Linked DNA regions of Homo sapiens: all the other regions are linked to region 1. Evidence: promoter capture Hi-C in 16 types of primary human blood cells and fetal thymus (Javierre and others, 2016). All regions are on one chromosome and are shown on one strand. Each heading gives the region's core, a stretch centred on a gene start or on the middle of the fragment in contact. The rest is flanking DNA. Distances are from core to core; before and after follow the strand shown.

Region 1 (2,700 bases), core at 22-2,521:
AACAATGGCATCTCCTCCTCAGCCCAGCCAGCAGCCCCAGGCTAGCATCTGGGAAGAGTCCAGGGAAGCCCAATGAGGGAGAGTGGGCTGTGTCTGGGATGGCCAGGGATCCCCTCCAAATGGGCACCTGCGGCAGGTCGTGAGTCCAGCCATCTCTAGGGCAGCCCACACCTTCAGCAAGGAGGGGCAGGAGACCTAGAATGGGGGAAATGGGAGGACTAAGATTCTAACGTTGGAGGTAGGGCAGGCTGGTGTTACCTGCACAAGGCCAGAAGCCTCTTCAGGCCGCCTCTCCAGGGACCGTGCCAGCTGTCCCCACTTCGATCAGCCACAGTATTGGACTTGGTCCAGCACGAACAGAAAGCGAAGTGTGAGCCCAAGACAGAGGGGGGAGCCGGACACCCTTATGGAACTAACAGCCTCTGGGGAGGCCTGTTCCAGATCCCGAGTCGGGCGCACAGGGGGATCCCCGCAAGGGGGCAGAGGGAAACCCGGGAGGCCCGCGAGAAGAGGCGAGGCCAGAGGCTGGGCGCGGGCAGCCAAGCGCACTCGCGGCGCCCCGACTCCAGGTAGCACGTAGAGAGGAGGCTGAAGAGCCCCTCGGTTTTCCGAAAGTTTCCAGCGAATCCTTCTTGGTGAAGATCGGCCTCTGGGAGGCAGCGTGTGTGCTTCCCGAGAGGGGGCCCCCTGCGCCGTCCCTCTTCCCCTGGCACAGAAGGGTTGAAGGACTGCACACAGGGATCCCTCCCCAGCCCAGTCTCCTCCCAGCGCGCCCCCTCCCCGCCATGCCGGCCAGCGCCGGGCTGTGTCCCAGGCACTGCCCCCCGCCAACCCTGGCCCGACCAGCCTCGCCGCTGCAGGCTGCCGGGAGCTGCGCTAGCTCATGCTCCCAGCTCGCTCGGTGCTCCCTGTTCGCTCCGGCCCGGCCCCGGCCCCCATCGCGCCGACCATGGAATAGGCGGGCGGCCCCGCGAGGCGCTCCTGCAGCCGGCGAGGCCAGAGCCAGTCCGGGGTGGCTTTGCCAACCGGCGGAGTTGGCCAGCGGCGGGCCCTCCTACCGTCGGTCCTTCCCCGCTCCTCCTCCTCTGCCCCCTCCGCCCCCGCCTCCCGGCCGCCCCCGCCGCCCCCGCCGCGCCGCCGCCCCAGGCCGAGCGCGGGCGCGGAGCGTGGGAGCCATGGCGCGCGAGGAGGAGCGGGACCCCGAGCGCCGGGAGGCGGCGGCGCGGGCGAGCGGCGAGGAGGAGGAGGAGGGAGGGGAGGAGGGACTGGGCGATAGCGACGAGGAGGGCGACGACGAGGAGACGGGCAGCGGCGAGGAGGAGGAAGAGGAGGCGGAGGCGGCGGCCGGGTGGGAGCGCAGCGAGGACGCGCGGCTGCTGCGCGCAGGGCTGCCTCCTGCCGCTGTCCCCGCCGCGGCCGCCCGCGACAGGAGCGGCCGCCGCCCGCCGAGGCCGCCGCCCGGCCGCCCGAGGATGCGGCCGTCCGGCGACGAGGACCGCGCGCGTCGCCGCCGCCGCCGCCGCCGCCGGAGGGACCTTCTGCTGAGCCAGCTCTGCTTCCTGGCCTCGGTGGCGCTGCTGCTCTGGTCGCTGTCGAGCCTGCGAGAGCAGAAGGGTGAGTGCACGCTGCCTGCCCCGAGTGGGCGCTGCGGCTCCGGCGGCTCGGGGCTCCCGGGGCTGGGCGCGGGGCTCCTTCGGGCGGCCCGGCCGGAGCCCCAGGATAAGCGGGCTGGGTTGGCGGGGGGAGTGGGATGCCAGGCACGAGGACTCCCCCTGCCCCACGCAGAGGCATGGAGGTGGGGACCCTGAGCGCCAGCAGCCAGCAGGCTTAGGCGTCTGGCCGCCCTGGGAACATTTACCTGTGCCCGCCTGTGCGCTGCTTACTCGCGAGCTGGAGGTACTGCTGGTGGCGGTGGTGGGGAGTCTTACTCTCCATCAGCCCCCAAGGCCAGGGATAAAGTTGTGGTGGTAGACCCGGCACCTGTGCAGGTGACCACCTGTATACTCCTTGGCTTGCTGAAGGATTCAAGGGGACTGCTTAACACACAGTTGTCCGTATGTTCTCCATCCAGAGAGCAGGCGGGATGGCCCGAGTAGAGAGCTCTTCAACCCCCTTTCAGAACAGGTGCCGGGAACTTCAGGGAGAGAAAAAGTGTTGGCCCTCCAGCTATGGGCTAGTAGGGGACTTGTTCTCCTAAAATGACCACTCACTGGGAAGACAGGGAATTCTTCCTCAGAGGTCCCTTTTGCAGAGCTGCTGCTGTGGAAGAAATGGTTTGCAGTGGACCACGCATCACACTGTCCGCTCCTCTACCGGTGCTCTGCGCAAAGTCTGCCCTTTAACCCACAACTTTTGTCTTGTCTTTGTCCTTGGCCTTTCTTGAGCTGAAATAGATCTTGTGTGCTCCCAACAGTTGTCTGCTGAAACAGCTTCGATCCTGGGATTCAGCTGTCTATAAAATGAAGGAAAAACATGGGAGAATAACTGTTGTAAAATGGTTTTATATCCCGGCCGTGGAAGTGGCACGATTAGTGGGAAAACAGCCATGTAAAGGGTTGTGAGAAAGAAACAAAACAAAACAAAACAAACAAACAAAAAAACAGTTACAAGTATGTGCTGTGGTGTTGAGGTCGACGTAGCTCTAATGCAAGATGTCATGAGGTGCAGAATAAAGACATTTTGATAGTCACCGTAAAATAT
Region 2 (2,700 bases), core at 144-2,643, 220 kb after region 1:
CTGCTTTACTTTTGTCGGGTGAACAAGTGAACTCATTGCTTTAAATTTCAAGGTATTTCATCTGAAGAGGCATCTGGAGGCTGAAAAAAATATATTGAGCATATTATGTAAAAATGTAAATACTGTTTAGAAAGAAATCGATTTTATGTTTCTTGACTTTTCAAATACCATTTGCGCTTTAGTGTTCCACTGGGGGCTGGGGGAAAAGGTAGGTGGATGCAGCCTTGGCCCCAAAAATGAGGTGTGAAGACGCTCCCTGTGAAACAAGCTGCTATCGGGAACCCGGAGTCCATTCCCACTGCCGTGCCTCTGCCTATTACAGGCCCCGCCCTCCGACTTGTCCTCCTCCCAGGCCTGTCCTGGGCTGACCCAGAGAGGATAAAGATCTCTCCTGGAAAAAAGTATTTGCTGGAGGCTGGGAGGAGGGACTCCAGGCAGTGGGAACCAGTGGGACCTGTAGAGGTTGTCTGGAAAGGGGCTTTTATCTCCCGTCAGGGAACAGGCTCTTCATTTCCAGAGGATAGTTTATGTTTCGCTCTGTGTATTCATGCACAACTTTAATATCAGTGGATTAATCCACAGTTTTAGAAGCTTATCAATAATTCTGCTGTCCACACACATATAACAAAACAGCACATTTGCAGTAACACATCAGGGATCTTGCGTTGCTGTGCTCCTCATATTTGAATTACTCAGATAATTGGAAGTCCAACGTTTGGTTTGGACTTATTTCAGTGCAGTCTTTTGAAAATATGTTCTTGCCACCTTGCACTGTGTCTCGTGCACATTCCTCAGCCGTCTCTCCATGCAGTAGCAGCAGCATGAGCCCGGTCTGGTTGTGGGTATTGCAGTTGCTGTTTGTTCCCTTCACGGGTGGCCGTCAGCTTCTACTTCTGTTACCTTCTGGTTTGCCTCAACCAGCTCATTTCACACCAGTACAATTCAATCAGTGTGCTTATTGTTTGCTAGCTTAAACATTCACTGAGCTTGGACACAGCACTCAATCGACACCGTGTTAATACTGTGTGTTAAGTAGGAGTCATTAGACTCTGAGGGACTTCTCAAAAATAAATGTCTGACTGGAGTTCAGGGCACTGTCAGCAAGGGCTGCGAAATTCTAAAATGGGAACAAGGATGTGGAGGAAGTTCCACATTTGCATGTTGGTGTCTAACCACTGGTACTTGCAACAGACATTATTTTCCCCAAAATGATAAAACTGCCAGAGCCACTGAGCAAAGTAAGCTACAGTGTAATTGCTCATGTGAGTTCTCTCCTTTGAGTGGGCAGGATATGGCATGGACCATCCTTAATCCTCATCGGGGAGGCAGAAGAGAAGCAGCCCTAGATTGTAGTTCCGAGTTCTTACCCACTCCAGATTCCATCACTTCTTGGCCACGTGGTGTTGGGTACGTTGCAGCTTCCTTATCTACACCTTCCTTTTCTCTAAAATTGTAGCTATTTAACCTGCCCTGCCCAGGAGGTGGGTGTGAAGAGGCTTTATGCAAGTAATGCAGTCTACAAACATAAACTGTCTTTATCAGTATCGATATCCTTACTTGCAAGTTGGGGATATGGCAAATGTGTAATAGACAAGTTGTGAATTGTGGTTTTGTCAGCTACAGCAAGCATGGGATGCCTTCTTTCCATCTTTAGGTTCTTCCCTCCCCCTCCAGTGTTTCTGCCCAGGAATTTAAAACAGAAATATAATGCTATTTTTTAGAAATCAGAAATAATTTCCCCTCTGTACACTATTAGCAGCCAGAAACTTTCATTTCTCTGAAGGTTACTAAATGCAAAAGAGGTATGAACTGTGTTTAACAAAACAAAAGCAAGCAACTCAACTATCCTCACTGTTCACTCAACCATCCTCCACTATTCTCACCTTTACCTCTGTTATCATTGAGAAAAGAATTGATGTATTGGGTTGACCCAGAGGAGGCTGCTGATATTTGATCACTTCTGGCATGTCATTTTTGTATGCTCAACCTAATTATTTCTGAGAAAAGAGAATTACACCTTTGGTTCAGGATTATCCAGGCAGCATTGCAGCATAATGCTGAAACTCTCATTTTTATGGTGCAAAGCCTTGAAAGAAGCCTATGGAAAGCGTGTGAGTAAATGCAGAGGTAATACACGCACTATCTCTAATACTTTGTATCTACCCCTCATTCAGGAGACACTGTTCTTTCTTGAGTTAAGCTTAGCCCGGGAAGGACACATATTTATGTGGAAGACGATGAGAGTTAGACTTGAATTTACTGTGTCATTTTAATAGACTGCTTCATCTACTTGACAATGAGGTTCTTCCAGGATTATCTTCGAAGCCCTGATGATCTGCTAAATAAATAATGTTCTGGGCCGGCCGACTCTATATATGGTCATCCGAGAGGGCCATAAATCTGTGCTCCTAGGGTAGCAGGAGTTCAGTTGTCCCATTTTTATTTCTAACTGACCCATAAAAGGCATCTTCAGTGTTGCTGATTATGCTCTCCTCATTTGATTTGGAGTTATGTCACCCTAAAGCAGGGAGAATTTCCTCACAATAAATCTCTCATTTTTAATCTCGAGCTACAGTGGGAAAGCCTGTCTGCACAGCTGAGAAAAAAAGAGGAGGGCCTGGGCTGTGATTTAATAGGGTGAAGGGTGGGGAGGTAGCCACCCTAGGGGCTGCACAAAGGCATCTCTGGGGAAGCCGCTGG
Region 3 (2,786 bases), core at 270-2,769, 240 kb after region 1:
TGGATCTTCTACAGAAAGTGAACAATTTTTGTTTTCTTTTTCCATAGACCCTGATATAGTGTTGAGTCATTGGTGGGTTGATTGATCTTATGACGTTTATTTCTTATCATCACTATTAGGTAACCAGATAAACCTAATGGTTAGATGGATGAGATGTGAAGTTGTGGCAGATGCTATCAGTGCCCTTCCCATGTTGCCTCAGCCTACCCCAGAGGTCACCTGTAGATACTTTTCATAAATGTATGTAAACAGATTCTTGCATCTGTCTCCCTCATGGTATCCTTTAACCATGGAAGTATGCTCAGCATAAACATAGAGAGAGCCGAGAATGTCTGGAAACCAATACACCAGGAGCAATCTTTAATCAGCGAGAGATAAGAGTATAGTAGATAAACCCCAGCCTCTTCACCTCTTCATGGAGCAATAAAAGGTAATTCAGCATCCTCTCTCAGAGCATCCCCAGGAGGATCAAGCCCTAGCTGATGGAGGTAATATGCTCATGAATGTTTGGGCCACCTTCGGGGCTCTGTCTCACTTCCTCACTCCCTTACTGGTGCTTCCTCGGATCACCCCCCTAATTTCACAGTCGCCTTCTGGGGGAAGTCAAATGAAGATGGAGGCTAAATAATTAGAACTACTTGGTTGAGAGGCTAAAATTATAAGTGTCAGTATAATATATAATTGGTTCCTTAAGTAACGTTTATTAGGCGACTATTGTGTACAAGGAACTGCACCCTGTGTTGGATATTTTGACATAGATGAATGAGCTATGAGTTTATAATGTACTGGGGAAGGTAAGGTAAGTACATCCCACCCAGGAAGTCCTCTGTGCTGCCAGGCAGTGAAATCTCCACAAGTCCTATGTTTGCCCTTTTTTTTTCCATCTGTATCTGTAACACGTTTCTTAAAGTTGAAGGAAAGACCCTTTAGAAAAAGAGATTTGGGCCCCACAGTTAGGGTAGCCTTTGGAGGAACACTTATGGCAAGAGAAAGACCTTTTATTCCTTCCAGGAGGAGACATACAACCAGATATGGTTTGGCTATGTCTCCACCAAAATCTCATCTTGAATTGTATTCCCATAATTCCCATGTGTTGTGGGAGGGACCTGGGGAGAGATAATTGAATCGTGGGGGCAGTTTCCCCCATACTGTTCTCGTGGTAGTGAATAAGTCTCATGAGATCTGATGGTTTTATCAGGGGTTTCTGCTTTTGCGTGTTCCTCATTTTCTCTTTGCCTGCTGCCATCCATGTAAGACGGGACTTGCTCCTCCTTGCCTTCCACCAGGATTGTGAAGCTTCCCCAGCCATGTGGAACTGTAAGTCCAATTAAACCTCTTCATTTTGTAAATTGCCCAGTCTTTATTGGCAGCGTGAAAATGGACTAATACACAACCCATTCTTTAAATCTTTCCACATTGCTGTGAGATGGCCAGGATGTCAGTAACCAGGCTGTCACTTCACTGCCCCTCTACAGCTAGCAATGGCTCAGACATCCACTGTCAACTCATGAATCCCAAACCCTAGTCATTGGGCAAGACAGGCTAACAGGGCAAGGAAGTGATTGTGGGTGGTGACTTCCTGCCTTGGGACAGCTTTGACCTGGGAGTCAGTGCAACACACCAGTCACCACCCTGGGCTTATTACACTCCCCAGTACTCAGTCTGGCAGGTACAGTGTACAGTGTGTTCACAGAGATAAAAGATGATACTGTGACTTTGTCCAGAATCTCTGTTAATGACTTGGAAGCTTAAATATTAGAGCCTGAGCTTTCTCTTGGGATTAATATAAGAGGAGGCATGTGCCAGACATGGCTCCTCCGTGAGCTATCTGATGCTATAAAAAGAAAAACTGCAAAGGGCATCCAGAAAAATGTCTGGACCCAAGAAAAAAATGAATAATGTAGTACTTACTGACCTGTGGCCTGGGATGTAAAGGGAAACCCTAATGGCGTAATCCCAGATCCATCAACTGTGGAGTCTCATATTTTATGACCAGTCTTTCTAGTTGTGGTGAGGGGGGAAATGTGGAGGAGGGCAGAGTCTTGCTTTCAGCTCTGCATCTCATTTGCTGCATAACCTGGGGCAAATCATGTTACCACCCTGAGCTGTAACTTTAAAATGAAGGAATTAGGTTGGGTCATTTTCAAGGAACATTTTCTTTTTGCATGATACAAATTCAGACTAAAACAAAAATTATTTATAGTCTACTTACTTTTCACTCAAGATGAAAATGCTTTATTGAATTCCATAAAAGAAAATAGTATTTTTACAATTTAGATGGTTTATTCTACTGAATAGAAAAATGCCAATGACAAAGTCAACACTGCTTTTTAGCCTCTGAAGCATTCACTAGCTGGGAATATTTGAGAAGTGGTACAGTAGTGGAAGCTTTCTAATGTTCTGCCTTAAAACTGGATCTCTGGGCTGTCTTATGAAGCCAAGCAAATCCTGTACATCCTGACAGCCACAAATCACTCATGGGACCAAGGCCCCAACCTCAAATTCCATTTGAGGACTCACATTCCCTGGATCTGTGGTTCTAGCCTGCTGTGAATCCCATCTGGAAGAGGTTGAGGGAGTCAGCTGTGAGAGCTGAGCAGTCCCCAGAGAAAGAACTACACGTGGCTTCTGCAGGAATTACCTTCAGCCTGTGGTAATCGAGAGTGGCAGCTCCAGCTATGAGGTTCAGAGGTGGCAAAGCCTTGGGATTAGGTGGCCCCAGGTGAATCACAGAGCATCTGGAGGACCGTTGATGAATTCCTTCCCCACCTTTTTCCTCCAGAAAT

The links. Contacts are between HindIII fragments. The CHiCAGO score rates a contact against its expected background, and 5 or more counts as called.
Region 2: a fragment that was not itself captured here is called in contact with the fragment with the promoter of SLC24A3 in region 1 in 4 of 17 cell types (M1 macrophages, M0 macrophages, megakaryocytes and 1 more); the score reaches 7.5 in M1 macrophages.
Region 3: a contact is called between a fragment that was not itself captured here and the fragment with the promoter of SLC24A3 in region 1, in 1 of 17 cell types (megakaryocytes). The highest score is 8.7, in megakaryocytes.

The regions. Positions count from the first base shown.
Region 1 is chr20:19,211,371-19,214,070 of GRCh38, forward strand. SLC24A3 (solute carrier family 24 member 3) reads left to right here and starts at 1,272. Exons shown (of 17, transcript NM_020689.4): 1 at 1,272-1,614. The coding sequence starts at 1,473. It overlaps LOC101929547 (a long non-coding RNA gene), which reads right to left and starts at 1,098. Exons shown (of 3, transcript XR_007067549.1): 1 at 259-1,098. RefSeq lists a silencer at 1,623-1,672. The HindIII fragment of the contact is 7,870 bases long and covers 1-2,700 here.
Region 2 is chr20:19,427,340-19,430,039 of GRCh38, forward strand. All of the region lies in intron 2 of SLC24A3 (solute carrier family 24 member 3), which reads left to right. Among named protein-coding and RNA genes, the nearest start is that of SLC24A3-AS1, 140 kb to the left of the region's middle. The HindIII fragment of the contact is 1,609 bases long and covers 590-2,198 here.
Region 3 is chr20:19,455,215-19,458,000 of GRCh38, forward strand. The region is part of intron 2 of SLC24A3 (solute carrier family 24 member 3); the gene reads left to right. Among named protein-coding and RNA genes, the nearest start is that of SLC24A3-AS1, 170 kb to the left of the region's middle. The HindIII fragment of the contact is 451 bases long and covers 1,295-1,745 here.